5 separate regions of the Homo sapiens genome follow, and regions 1, 2, 3 and 4 are each linked to region 5. The links are contacts of gene promoters, found by promoter capture Hi-C in blood cells and fetal thymus (Javierre and others, 2016). All regions are on one chromosome and are shown on one strand. The core of a region is centred on a gene start or on the middle of the fragment in contact, and the rest is flanking DNA. Distances in the headings are between cores, read along the strand shown. Region 1 has its middle 31 kb from the start of TRH. Region 2 has its middle 22 kb from the start of TRH. Region 3 has its middle 34 kb from the start of RPN1. Region 4 has its middle 12 kb from the start of TRH. Region 5 holds the start of EFCAB12 (EF-hand calcium binding domain 12).

Region 1 (2,700 bases), core at 82-2,581, 520 kb after region 5:
TGGGTGCAATCAGGGCAGGCTTCAAGAAAAGGACAGGCCTTAAAGACTGGCAAGATTTGGATAGAAACGGGAGGGCCCTCTGGGAGGGAGGCATGGCTTGAGCAAAGGTTTGCAGAAGGAATGAGCTTCATGGGAAGTGTGTCCTTGCCTGAGGCAGGGTGACAGTGTCTGAAATTCTGAAACACGTCTCAAGACATTGTTTTAGTCATGATCAAGTAACAGAAACCCACCTCAAATTGAGTTAAGAAAAAAAGAGGGCCCGGTGCAGTGGCCCGTGCCTGTAAACCTTACATTTTGAGAGGCCGAAGCAAGAGGATCACTTGAGCTCAGGAGTTTGAGGTCAGCCTGGGCAATAAGGTGACACCTTATCTGTACAACACTTTTAAAAAAAAATTAACTGGGTGTGGTGGCATGCACCTGTAATTCCAGCTACTCGGGAGGCTGAGAGCGGGGGATTGCTTGAGCCTGGGAGTTCAAGGCTGCAGTGAGCTGTGATCACACCACTGCACTCCAGACTGGGCAGCAGAGTGAGGCCCTAACAGTTAAAACAATAAAGAAAAAAAAGAAAAAATGAAAAGTTATTCCCTCATGTAACTAAAAAGTCCATCAAATGATGTCATCATGCATCTGCCTCTCTTTATCTCTCAGCTCTGCCTCTCTCTGTAGTGATTCTGTTCCAGGCCACCTTCCTTCTCCCAGTGGCAATGTGGCTGCCCACAGCTCCAGGCAGACTCCCTAAAACAACTTAGCCACCACCAGCAAGAGACGACCTCATTCACAGTGACTCCACAGACATCCTGGGGATCACTGATTGGCCTAGACTGTGTCATATGCCTATCCAGAAGCTAGTTGCTGCAACTCTCATGGATATGGTCTCAGTCACAGGCCACCTCTGGTATGCAGATAGATCTGTCCACTCAATGCCCCTGGACTGATATTGGGGTTGGGGGTGGTCTCCAAAGGAAAGGCAGGGTGGTCTCAGAAGATGGGACAGTGAGTGCTGGGCAGACAAAAAGAAGAGCGGTCCCAACCAGGTTTTCACCCGAGGAATGATGAGTCAGTAACTGTGGAGCAGGGCGGAGTGGGGCATGGAGTTTATTCTAGCTGTCTGTCTGTTCATTTGTTTGTTTAGCTTTTATTTATTTGTTTTTAATTTTTAATTAATTAATTTTGAGACAGAGTCTCACTCTGTCGCCCAGGCTGGAGTGTAGCGGTGCGATCGCAGCTCACTGCAATCTCCGCCTTCCAGGCTCAAGGGATCCTCCCGCCTTAGCCTCCTGAATAGCTGGGACCACAGGCGCACATCACCATGCCCAGCTAATTTTTGGATTTTTAGTAGAGATGGGGTTTTACCGTGTTGGCCAGGCTGGTCTCAAACTCCTGGGCTCAAGAGATCTGCCTACCTTGGCCTCCCAAAGTGCTGGGATTACAGGCATAAACCACCATGTCCGGCCAGTTGGTTTAGCTTTTAAATGTGAATGTGTGTGAGTGTGTGTGTGTGTGTATGTGTGTGAGTATGTCTGGGTGAATGTGTGTGTGAATGTGTGTGTGAATGTGTGTGTCTTCCAGTGTGCCTTGCCTCGATGGCTGCAGCCTGAACTCACTTAAAAAGTAATTCATGGCAGCTACCAGGTACCAGGAACAGTGCTGGAAGCCGAGAGCACTGCAATGAGCAAAAAAGATAAAGTCCTTGCCTTCCTGAATTTACATTCTGGCGGGAGAGACGGATAAAAACAGAGACCATTAAATACACAATGTGTTAGGTAACAACTAAGAGAAGGTTGGTCGGTATGTGCACAGGTGTGTGTATGTGTGCGTGCCCATATACCCATGTGTGTCGTGTGTGTGCATGCATGCATATGTGATGTCCTGTGCAGGATGGCCAGGAGGAGGAACATTTAAGCAGGGGTCCAAAAGAGGTGGGTAGTGAGCCAAGCAAAGATCTGGGCCCAGCAGTCCAGGTGGAAGGAACAGCAAGTACGAAGGCCCTGAGGCAGGAATGGGCATGGTGTTTTCAGGTATCAACAAAAGTCCTCTGACACTGAGCTAAGGGGAGAGTGGCGGGAGGGAGGACAGAGGAGTACAGGAGGCAGGTGGTGGTGCAGGGCCTTGCGGGCCACTGTAGGGACTTTGGCTTTTACTCTCCCCAAAACAGGGAGCCCTAGGATGGTTCTGAGAAGTGAAGGGACGTGATCTGACTTCGGTTTTGAGAAAACTGCCTGGCAGCTGTGTAGAAAGTAGATCACAGGGGCCAGGGCACAAGCAGGGCGGCTGGAGTGGAGGCTGCTGCAGTTGTCTGGGTGAGCGGTGAAGGCGGCTGGACCAGGGTGGCTGCTCTGGAGGTGCACGGGTGGGTGGAACTCCAAATGTATTTTGCAGGATGAGCCAATACAATTTGCTGATGGTTGGGGGTGGGGCATGATAAAAAGAGAGGAATCAAGAATGATCCAAAAGTTTTTTTGCCTGAGCAACTGTTAGGTTAGAGTTGCCTTTTCCAGAGACAGAAAGATTACAACAGAAGCAGTCGGCAAATATTTGAGAACATACTATGTGCCGAGGTTACACCTAGAAGCATGGCAACCTTGTCTTGGAGCTTGGCAAGAGAGACAGACAAGAACCACTGAACAAGTAGGTAGAGGAGAAAATACCAGCTGGTAAGAAGGGCCACTTAGAGCAACAGAACAGGGTGATGGGAGTCTG
Region 2 (2,700 bases), core at 171-2,670, 570 kb after region 5:
GCTTCCTTTGGGTGGTGCAAGCCCAGATATGAGCCCAGGATGATCACAGGCCGAGAAAGGGAGCAGGGAAGCCATGGGAAGGGTGGTACCATGAGGCCATCACTCCACAATCACCCTCGTGGCTGCTCTGGAGGTACACCCACCTTACACAGAACACCTCCAGGAGGACTGCAAGGAGAAATCCAGTCTCAGATAGTCCAGAGAAAGATGGAAGGAGAGGGGGTTTATCTACCTGGATCCCTCCTGTCTCCTGGGTCTCATTAGTCAACCTTGGTTCTGTGGCCAATGAACGATAAATTCTTTTGTACTTCTGGCATCATTTGGTCATTTTGGGGGCTCTGAGGTCTTTCCATCCCACACCCTGTGGGGTGTGTTTCAAATACGGATGTAAGTCTTATTATTACTCAAGTACAGTGAGACCAACAGCTCAGGAGACGACTGCCACAGAAAAGAGTTTGTTACTCACAGGTCCCAAGAGGAGGGGGCATGCCATGCCAGGAAGAGCCACAAGGAGAGGCATGAGGGTCAATCAGGAGGCAGAGGGTGTGAGGGGCAAATGGGGCAAGATCCTTTACTTTAGTTTCCAGGTGAGGCAGGGTAAACAGGCTTAGGATTGGCTAGATTGAATAATTTCAGCAGGCTTTGGGGCATAGCGGCTGACCCTAGATGCTTGGTACCTGGCCCTGGAGTGATTAGGGCAGGAGAATAGTGGCCTGGAGTGAAAGAGCCCAGAGATAAAGGGGGTGGTGCGGGTGGGGGCTGTGCATTGATTAGTTTGCATGTTAAATGCACACTTACAGGCCAGTCCTTTACTATCTCTTGGCCATCCCTGGGAGGAGCAATCCCTCCAGGGTTACCAAGACCCCAGATGTCAAAGCATCAGAAACATAGAAGATAGAAAGGTATCATTAATACAGGGAAGAACCAGAAACTCTGGGCATGAGCTGGTGGATCTAGCTGCACTGTGGTGGCCAAGGGGGAGGGTCCTGCACACCCAGCAGGGACAATGTCCTCTGCCTATTGCGACTTCTTTGACCCAGCTCCTCCTACTCTCCCCTCATTCACACCATCCTCCTTAGCCTCCTTGCTGTTTCTGGAACATGCCAGGCAACAGGGACCAGGGCTGTAACTTTCCAGATCATTTTCTCTACATTTGTACACAGCCACATGCACATATATTTGCACACTATTGTCTCAAGACTTTTCTGATACCACCGCACATCTTAGAGCTGTCCTCATGTCAGTCGTTAGATATTTCCCTTGTTCTTTTTAATCACTATAATGGTTGACGCATGGGTGCATCAAAAGTCACTTATGCACACCCCTATGGATGGATATTTAGGTTATTTTCAGCACTTCCTGATTATAAACAACGCCATCATAAGCAGTCTTGCTCCTGTCTTTGTATAGACATGCGAGTTTCTGTGGGATAGAACACCTACAAGCAAAATTGCTAGGACAATGGGCATGGGTAGTTAACATTTTCACAAATACTGCCAACTGCTCCATAGAAAGCCGCTCCCAATTTATACACCCACCCATAGTGAGTGAGGTTTCAGAGAACTCATTGCTCCACACCATTTCCAACAACAGCTATTTTCAGTGATTAATCTTTTTGAAATCAATCTATTTTTTCTTTTTCTTTTTCTTTTTAGAGGTGGAGTCTCACTCTGTCACCCAGGCTGGAGTGCAGTGGTGAGATCTCAGCTCACCGTAGCCTCCACCTCCTGGGTTCAAGCGATTCTCCTGCCTCAGCCTCCCGAGTAGCTGGGATTACAGGTGCACCCACCACGCCCGGCTAATTTTTTTTTTTTTGAGACGGAGTTTTGCTCTTGTTGCCCAGGCTGGAGTGTGATGGCGTGATCTTGGCTCACTGCAACCTCCACCTTTTGGGTTCTAATGATTCTCCTGCCTCAGCCTCTTGAGCAGCTGGGATTACAGGCATGCGCCACCATGCCCAGCTAATTTTGTATTTTTAGTAGAGACGAGGTTTCTCCATGTTGGTCAGGCTGGTCTTGAACTCCTGACCTCAGGTGATCCACCCACCTCGGCCTCCCAAAGTGCTGGGATTACAGGCATGAGCCACTGCACCTGGCCTTAATTTTTGTATTTTTAGTAAAGACAGGGTTTCACCATTGTTGGCCAGGCTGGTCACAAACTCCTGACCTCAAGTGATATAGCTTGCCTCAGCCTCCCAAAGTGCTGGGATTACAGGTGTGAGCCACCACGCCTGGCTGAAATGAAATCAACTTCCTTCCTTCCTTCTTCTTTCCTTCCTTCCCTCCCTCCTTTCTCCCTTTCTTTCTTTTCTTTTTCTTTCTTTCTTTCTTTTTCTTCCTTTCTTTCTTTCCTTCTCTTTCCTTTCTTTTTCTTTCTTTCTGACTTTCCTTCCTTCCTTCTTTCTCTTTCTTTCTGACTTTCCTTCCTTCTTTCTCTCTTTTTCTCTCTCTCTTTCTCTCTTTTTCTTTCTCCTTCCTTCTTTTCTTTCTTTCTTTTCCTTCTCTTGCTCTGTTGCCCAGGCTGGAGTGGCTGGCACGATCTTGGCTCAAGCCAATCTCAGGTTCAAGCCATTCTCCTGCCTCAGCCTCCCAAGTAGCTGGGACTACAGGCACGCACCACTATGCCTAACTATGAAATCAGCCTATTTCTGGTAGCCACTCTATTTGATTCCAAAAATGGCTTGAAGCAGTTTTTACTCAA
Region 3 (2,700 bases), core at 195-2,694, 810 kb before region 5:
TGGAGTGCAGTGGTGTGATCATAGCTCACTGCAGCCTCAACCTCCTGGGTTCAAATGATCCTCCCAACTCAGCCTCCCAAAGTGTTGGGAGGACATTTATAAAGTCCACTGCACTCAGTTGAAGATATTTGTTGAATGAATGGATGTGCTGCCTCTGTTTAAACTCTGCTGAAATAGAGCACCCAGTGTAGGGAGGCAAACAGTCCATTCCACTTCAGAAAGCAGTGTCCAGTAGTGTAAGGTAGGGACATCTCAGCCCACCTGGAGAATAGGGAAGGCTGCCCAGGAGGCGAAGCTTGAACAGGTCTTTGCTGATCTCCTCAGTGCTAATGAAGGCACAGTCTCTCAGGGCTCTCCCATGAGATCACTGCCTTAAGCCCTCAATCCCACCCAATCCTGCTCTACTGGGATCTATTCACTGGCCCCTTCTCTCCTGGATCTTCAGCCTTTATGTCCCTGTTACCTCCTTCCTTCCCATCAGCATTTGAACAGGCTCCTGTCCTTCCCACTGCTACAGACTGAATGTCTGCATCCCCCCAGAATTCTTATGTTGAAACCTAACCCCCAATGTGAAGCATTAGAGGGTGGCACCTTTGTGAGGTGATTAGGCCATGAGGGTAGAGCCTTCATGAATGGACATTAGTGCCCTTATAAGATACATCCGAGAGTTCCCTCATCTCTGCCACCATGTGAGGACACGAGAAGGTGCTATCTTTGAACCAAGCAGCAGGACCTCTCAACACCAAATCTGCCGGTGCCTTGATCTTGGACTTCCCAGCCTCCAGAACTGTAAGAAGCAAATTTCTATTTATAGCTACCCAGTCTATGGTATTTTGTTATAGCAGCCTTAACAGACTGAGACACTCGTCTTAAATCTTTCTGGATTCTATCCCCTGAGTGGAAGTCAAAAAAGGAGTCTGGGCTCCTCCCTCCCCACCAACCCCCACAAGCAAATCCTTCAGATGCTGCGATGGACCCTCCTGATGGCCCTACCTTCTGACTTGCCTTTCCTGATGCCCAGCACTTCTGCTGTCTGCTCCCTTCTGTGTCCCCTGCATTTAGTCCTGGGCCTGTCACACCACATATGGAACTAAGGGCCTGATGGAAGCTGAGACCCTAAAGGGCTGGGCTGGGGGCACCATGAAGGGGTTGGCCATGGTAGGGGACAGGCTGCATCATTCAGCTTTCGCTTCAGGTCTAGCCCAGTTTGAAGGTTCTCTCTTCCCTCCCTGTCATCTCCCACACCTGCCCAGGCAGGTGACAAAGCAGTCCCCAGATCCCAGGCCACCAGCCCCAGAACCAGGCCAGAGTCCCAGAGTCAGGCCCAGCTTCAAAATGGCGCCAGGCCTCATCCAAAGCATCAGGCCTTTGCAGAGGGCCCTGGGGTACACTCGGGGGCATTTCCTGTCTGAGCCTGCGGCCCCCAACCGCTGGCAGCATGGGCTTCCGGCGGGGCTGCGGCCGGGGCCTGCACTATCAGCTCGGCACCAGACGCCCGGTCAGGATACTTGTGGTGAAACTGTGAGGGCGCACTGGGTCCTTTGGGGTTTTCTCCCATGACAGCCTCCAAGACAAATGGAAGAGAGAAAGTGACACCCAGCCCTTCTTCAGCCGTGTTTTCCCCTCCCTGAGCCAGGGTCCAGGTTCAAGGCTGGGGGACTGCCATGAGGCCACCTATGACTACAGGGACATCCCAAAGCTGCAGCCATGGAAGCAGCCAGGGCCAGGCCACTAGGGTCAGGCATCTTGGCCAAGGCTGGACAAAAGGCACTGTGGCCTGGGGATCTGAATGGGAGTGGGAGTGGGTGGGCCACTCCTATACGGCCACATGAGGGCCACAGAGAAAGTACGCTGGGTCTGAGACTGAGAGGTGTCAGGTGTCTGGGGCATGTCACCTTGCGCCAAGGGATGCCCAGCCTGAACCTGGCTTTACACCTAGGGCCCCACTTCACCTCCTCCCTGAGATTTACAAGGGGGAAACTGAGGCCCTGTTTACTACTGGGGAAACCGAGGATCAGGGAAGCGCAGGGCTGCGCGTGGCGTAGGGCGCTCTGTCCCAGCAACCAAAGGATGTAAGCCCGTAGGTGGGGAGGGCAGCACCGGATGCCCCACTGGGCCCAGGGATGCACCCACCACAGGATGCTGGGGGAGCCACCGGCCTTGGCCAGCCCAGCTAGCCCTGTGGCTTTCCAGGGCAGCTGAGAGCCCAGGTCCCCATGGCTAAGCCCCTCAGCAGCCCAGTGGTCCTGAGCCCGCCGACCCCAGACCCAGTCCTAGTCCGGCCAGAGGAGGCCGTTTACGAGCCCACACCCGTAGGTGGCGCCACAGCCGGAGAATTGGCTTTGGTTCTGTTGGAGCCGCGCCGCCTTTAAATTAGCCCCACGCATGCGCGACTTTTCTAGCCCGAGCCCGCCGTCTGCGCCTGCGATTTCGCCCATACTCCCCGGTGCCCGCCTCGTGACGTGCCGCAGTGTTACGAAGGGACACCAGGGCGCAGGCGCAGCTCGCTCCTCAGGCCTGCGAGAGGCCCGCCGGCCCAGCAGAGGGCGCCCACCAATCTGCACGCGGGCCCAGCGAGTTATCTTGATTTCGGCCAAGCTTTCTGACTGCTCCAAAAAACGAAGAAAAAGATTCAGGGAGAGTAAGAGGATGAAGAGAGCTGGTGAAGCAGCTGACCAAATGGCCCGAGGTGGTATGCAG
Region 4 (2,700 bases), core at 180-2,679, 530 kb after region 5:
AGAAATGGTGAGGGCTGGGTGGGTCTGCAGGAAAAAAAGGGAGTCTTTTACCCTCAGCCAGCCCCACACCTCTACCTGCCCATAGTGCTCCTGGCTGAGTGCCCTACCTGCTCTTCGCTGGCCTTTCCAATATTAATCACCTTCCAGGCTCCTGATTAGCCTCACCTCATAGTTCAGGCTTGACTGGGCATCTCCTGTCCGTGGAGACTGCTTCCCCCATAGCACATGATCAGTGCTATGTGTCTTGACACATAATTGCTCTTTAATTGTTTCTGCTGTTTTTTGTTTGTCTGTTTGTTTGTTTTTCTTGTCTCGCAGCTTCCCTATGAGCTCCTTGGGGCAGGAAACCAGTTCACTTCTGTCTCACTCACTCACTCATTCATAGATTTACTCATGCATTTATTCACTCCCTACTCACTCTTCCACTCAGTCACCTAAAGCGTATTATCCTTAAAAGTGTTTTGGCCTCCCCTTGATGACCACATATGAATGAGACCAGAGAAATTACCCATCTTTTGAAAGTCCAGGTGAGATATTGTTCACAGGGCTAGGCTGAGTCCCAAGGCCCTAGCCTTGATCTTGATTTATCTCCCAGAGACACATGAGACTTTGGGTCACTTCCCCAATGGGGACACTTCTCAGGGAGAACTGGAGCTCCTTCTGTAAGGTGCAGAATAGGTTTATTATTATTATTATTTATTATTATTATTATTATTATTTTTTGAGTCGGAGTCTCACTCTGTCACTCAGGCTGGAGTGCAATGGCACAATCTCTGGCTCAATGCAACCTCTGCCTCCCGGGTTCAAGCAATTCTGCCTCAGCCTCCCGAGTAGCTGGGATTACAGGCGCCTGCCACCACGCCCGGCTATTTTTGTATTTTTAGTAGAGACAGGGTTTCACCATATTGGCCAGGCTGGTCTCAAACTCCTGACCTCAAGATCCGCCCGCCTCAGCCTCCCAAAGTGCTGGGATTACAGGCTTGAGCCACCGTTCCCGGCCATTATTATTATTTTTTAAAGTAGCTGGGCCTTGGTGAGCCAGCAGGCAGGACAAAGCTCCCTGAACCCTGCCCCTTCCCTGCCAGCTGTACTTTCAACATCTGAGAGAGTGTATAACATGGTGATTTAGAGTCAAAGACTTGGTCTTCCACCTGATGACCTCGGGCAAGTTGCCCAACCTTCTGGGTCTCAGCTTTCTCATCTGTAAAATGGGATTAACTGCAATACTCACATCATTCAATTTTATGAAGATTTAATGTAATAATACATGTAAAACACTTTGCATAAGGACCAGAATGTAGTAACCAATTAGTGTTTGCTGAAAATTTTAGGTTATTATTACCAGTATGTAAATATTATTATCATCCTCATTTTACAGAAGAGAAAACTGAGCCCTAGAGATGTTAAGTGATGTACCTAAGGCCTGCAGTGAATCAGTAGCAGAGCTGGTACTCAAGCACAGGCCTTCAGAGTTTGAGGCAGAGGCTAAGGCCAGGGAATGTGGCTCCCTTTTCCTGCCCTGGCATGGAATAAGCCATGGCCCAGCCATGGGATCCCTTCACATCTTTGAGTTTCATCTGTTAGTCATTAGGTTGCAAGTGACAGAAGGGGTAGCTCAAACTGAGTAGAACAAAAAAGTAATGTATCAGCTTCTGTAACTGAAGAGTCCAGTGATATGTTCAAACAGTGTCATGGAAAGCCAGTTACACTTTCTGGTTCAATTAACTTTGTGGTGGCATCATTCGTAAGCAGAATCTTTCCATGAGGTAGCAGAAATAGTGCCCAGTAGTGCTTGGCTTGTACCCCTACACCCCAAGCATGAAAGAACACCTCTTCCCACACCGTTTCAGCAAAAATCTCAAGTTTGAGTTTCATTGGCCTGGCTTGGCCATACATCTGTCCTTGAACCAGTCCCTGTAGATGGGAGATTCACACTCTGATTGGCTAGGCCTGGGGCACAAGGATCCCAGGGTGGTGCTAACTCCACATAAACCAACAGGCTAGAGAGCAGGGGAAGGTAAGGACCCCTTGGAAACCCGGGGTCCTGTTATAAGAAGGAAGGGGCCTGGAGGCTGAACAGACAAAAATAATAGTTACCTATACAAATGGGAATAAGACTTTCACATTTCTTGTGAGAATTATTTGTGATCATGTGGAGAGCATTTCTTTCATCTTTGGGCCTCTAAGTGGGACTCTTTTTTTTCTTATCGTCCTTGATGTTCATTTGACCCAATTGTATCCCCTTGCCCTTCCCCGTCCTCAGATCCTTCTTCCAACCTCTTCCCCGTCTCAATCTCTCTTTCCTGAAATCACAGCCAGGATTTGAGTCCATGACTCCCCTGAGGCCCCAGTACAGAGGAGGAGGCCTTATCAGTCAGGATTGGTGACAACAGAACCCAACTCCAGCGAGCTTAGCTGAAAAGGGGGATTTGTTGCTCATCAGGAAGACCAAAAGGTCAGGCTTGAGAGCAAAAGGAGGCCCCTGCAGGGTCCAGCTGGGCAGCAAGGACTTCTCAACCGTCTTGTTCCTGTGCAGCTGCTGCTGTGCTGCAAATGTCCCTGCAGCAAATCTGCCATCTCTCTGCTGGAGAGTCTAGGTCCCAGGAAACAGTGGGAGCCACAGGACCACTGCTTGGCCCTGAGAGGTTGGACAGCATGGCGGGTATCCTACCAAGGCTACATGTAATGCGAGGAAGGAAA
Region 5 (2,700 bases), core at 109-2,608:
CTGTGCCCAGCTACTGACAAGGATCTTAAACTCAACCAACCAAGACTGGATTTGTCTTTGTGCCCCTTCCCCCACTAACTGGGTCCTCTGAGTACGTTCTCTTATCTCTGTGGAAGACATCTCCATCTACCAGGTCCCCCAGCTGCCAACTTGAGAACCATCTTTATTTGCCTCTTCTGTGTTTCCTGACCAACCAGCCCCCAAGTCCCGTAGTTCCCTCTAGCCTGGGCCTTCTCCCTCACCTCCCAGCATCTTTAGCTTGGGCATTTGACCAGAGCCCTGACCTGTGTGCCTGGGAAAGGTGGCCAGCCTCTCCAGCTCTCCCTGTTTCTCCACTGGGCATTAATGTGTTCAGTGCTGGAGAAGCGGCATGGAGAAGACCTTCAGTCTTCAAGCTTTATAGCCCCCAGCTCTCATCTCCCCACACCAACATTCTGAGTCTGCCAACTCAGTCTCAGGTCTTTTCTGACTGCTCCCAATCCAGTCCTGCCACTCCCAGTGGCCTCTCCATCTCCTGGCTTGCAGTATCTTTTATGATCTTGTCCCTTCTGACCTCTCTCACCTCATTTCCAGAGACACCAGACCTCTTGGGTCATGCTGTTTCCTTGCCCGAAATGCTTTTCCTTCCCCTTTTGGCTTGGAGAACTCCTTTTTATCCTTTAAGCTCCAGTGTAAAGATCTTTTCCAAAAGCTTGGAACTGTTCCTCCCCATCCCATACCCTCAGCACACCTTTTACTCCTGGGTGTCATCCCTGGGCCCGGCATTTACCCCTTCTTATTCTGTAATTATCCATTTATCTCTGTCCTTTACCCGTGAAGCTGCATTGCTTTGCCAAGAACTTGGTCCCCAGCACATTACTGCCAAAACCTTGAAGACTGACGTCTTCTCCATGCCTCTCCTCCAGTACTGAATACATTAATGTCCTGCAGAGAAACAGGGCGAGCTGGAGGGCTCCCGTCACATGGGTCGGGCCTCTGGTTCCTCCAACTAGGCTCAGATAGAAATCTCAGAAATGTACATGACCTGCCCCCGACTCCATGGCAACCCTTCACCCAGAGGGGGTCGGCACAATATCTGTGGCTGAGTTTTTGCCCTCACCCCACTTTCACGCGTCCTTAGGGCGCTGAGCGCTCCCTGCAGACGCTTCTTCCCGGGGCTTACCGAGCAGCGACAAGAACAGACTGTGGTACGCTTCATAGTCGTCGTCCATGGTCGTGGTGCTGGGAGGGGGTGCTGAAGGGCGTGTGTGAATGTGTGTCGATGTGGGCTTGCTTGCGTAGGGGTACCGGGGTATCAGATAAACCGTAACTCCAAGTCGTGCGAAAGGCGCTCAGCTCAGACTGCAGAAGCAACCTGTTGCCGTGGCTACGGACGCCCCGCGCCAATTGGCTGAGCGCTGTCACGTGTTAAGAGCGAGCCCGCCCTGCCGAGCGCCTGCTGGCCCCACCTCGTTTTCGTCCAATTCTGGGAGGGGCAGCGAGCAAATCCACGCCCCGCCCAGTTCTGGGCTTGGTGAAAGGCGGGATTTCTTTGTTCGGCCCAGTAGTCCCTGAATCCAGTGTAGAAAGTCTCCGGTTTTCCCGTGAAATGTGGGATCTTCCGCAGGTCTCCATATCTCTAGGCCTCAGTTTTCTCATAGGAAAAATAGGCCCTGCCTCCTCCAGAGGGTTAGGAAGAACCAAAGTGAGCTGTGGCCAGATAGAGGTGTTGGGTATGTTCTGCCCCGCTTATGGCAGGGTGCCATGGTTTGGAGTTACAGAACCTGAGGACCAGAGAATAATAATAAACCCTTGAAATGTGCATCAACTGATAAGCAAAATGAGGTATATCCATAGGATGGCCATAAGAAGGAATGAAGTACATGCTACAATATGGATAAACCTTCAAAACAGTATGCTAAGCAAGAAGCTAGACACAAAAGGCCACGTGCTGTATGATTCCATTTATGTGAAATGTTCAGCATAGACGAACCCACAGACACGGAAAGTAGATGAATGGTTGCTAGGGGATGGGGTGAGTAATTGAAGTGACTGCTAACAGGTGGAGAGATTCTTTTTGGAGTGGAAAAAAGAAATGGAAACTTCTGGAATTAGTGATGATGGCTGCACACTGTAAATGTACTAAACCACTGAACTGTACACTTTAAAATGGTTAAATGGTGGCTTTTAGCTCAATTTTTAAAAAGTTAAAGAGAAACACCTAAGCCCTTATTCCTTTGCTGAGACAAGCTATCTTTGTGACGCTTGCAAACAGATTGTTGCCATGGGCCACATTCACACAGCACTCTTGCAAGCCAGGTACCATTTTAGCACTACATGTCTGAACTTCATAATTACCATCATTGTGTGAGGTAGACACCACTATCCCATTTTTAAAAGACAAGTTAACAGGTACAGAGGTCAGGCAACCTCACCTGCAAGAAACAGGAAAAGCCAGGCCTAGAGCCTGAGCAACCTGGCTGTGTCCTGAGCTCCCCTGGTGCAGAGCTCGCCTCCTGCATTCACACGGGCCCACACTCCCCATGGAGATGCTGGGGGAAGGTATGTGACCACCAGCCCTACCACAAAGCCACACCTGATGCCCTGAGCTTGGTGAGCTCGCCCCACCCTCCAGGCCCAGCTGGGCCCAAGGTTTCAGAGGCCCCTCTCCACCCTCTTTGGGTGTCTTGTCCCTACTCCTTACCGCTTTTGTTCCCTTCC

What was found. Contacts are between HindIII fragments. The CHiCAGO score rates a contact against its expected background, and 5 or more counts as called.
Region 1: a contact is called between a fragment that was not itself captured here and the fragment with the promoter of EFCAB12 in region 5, in 1 of 17 cell types (neutrophils). The highest score is 5.2, in neutrophils.
Region 2: a contact is called between a fragment that was not itself captured here and the fragment with the promoter of EFCAB12 in region 5, in 2 of 17 cell types (M2 macrophages and M0 macrophages). The highest score is 6.1, in M2 macrophages.
Region 3: a fragment that was not itself captured here is called in contact with the fragment with the promoter of EFCAB12 in region 5 in 2 of 17 cell types (naive CD4 T cells and activated CD4 T cells); the score reaches 6.0 in naive CD4 T cells.
Region 4: a contact is called between a fragment that was not itself captured here and the fragment with the promoter of EFCAB12 in region 5, in 1 of 17 cell types (M0 macrophages). The highest score is 5.5, in M0 macrophages.

Annotation. Positions count from the first base shown.
Region 1 is chr3:129,942,616-129,945,315 of GRCh38, forward strand. No RefSeq gene overlaps it. Among named protein-coding and RNA genes, the nearest start is that of TRH, 31 kb to the right of the region's middle. The HindIII fragment of the contact is 3,757 bases long and covers 1-2,700 here.
Region 2 is chr3:129,995,790-129,998,489 of GRCh38, forward strand. It overlaps the pseudogene LOC124906284 and the pseudogene RPS17P9. Among named protein-coding and RNA genes, the nearest start is that of TRH, 22 kb to the left of the region's middle. The HindIII fragment of the contact is 3,275 bases long and covers 1-2,700 here.
Region 3 is chr3:128,615,311-128,618,010 of GRCh38, forward strand. No RefSeq gene overlaps it. Among named protein-coding and RNA genes, the nearest start is that of RPN1, 34 kb to the right of the region's middle. RefSeq lists enhancers at 2,510-2,700, 2,593-2,700. The HindIII fragment of the contact is 2,303 bases long and covers 294-2,596 here.
Region 4 is chr3:129,961,613-129,964,312 of GRCh38, forward strand. No RefSeq gene overlaps it. Among named protein-coding and RNA genes, the nearest start is that of TRH, 12 kb to the right of the region's middle. The HindIII fragment of the contact is 3,782 bases long and covers 1-2,700 here.
Region 5 is chr3:129,427,278-129,429,977 of GRCh38, forward strand. It overlaps EFCAB12 (EF-hand calcium binding domain 12), which reads right to left and starts at 1,359. Exons shown (of 9, transcript NM_207307.3): 1 at 1,163-1,359. The coding sequence starts at 1,211. RefSeq lists a silencer at 1,496-1,545. The HindIII fragment of the contact is 3,479 bases long and covers 690-2,700 here.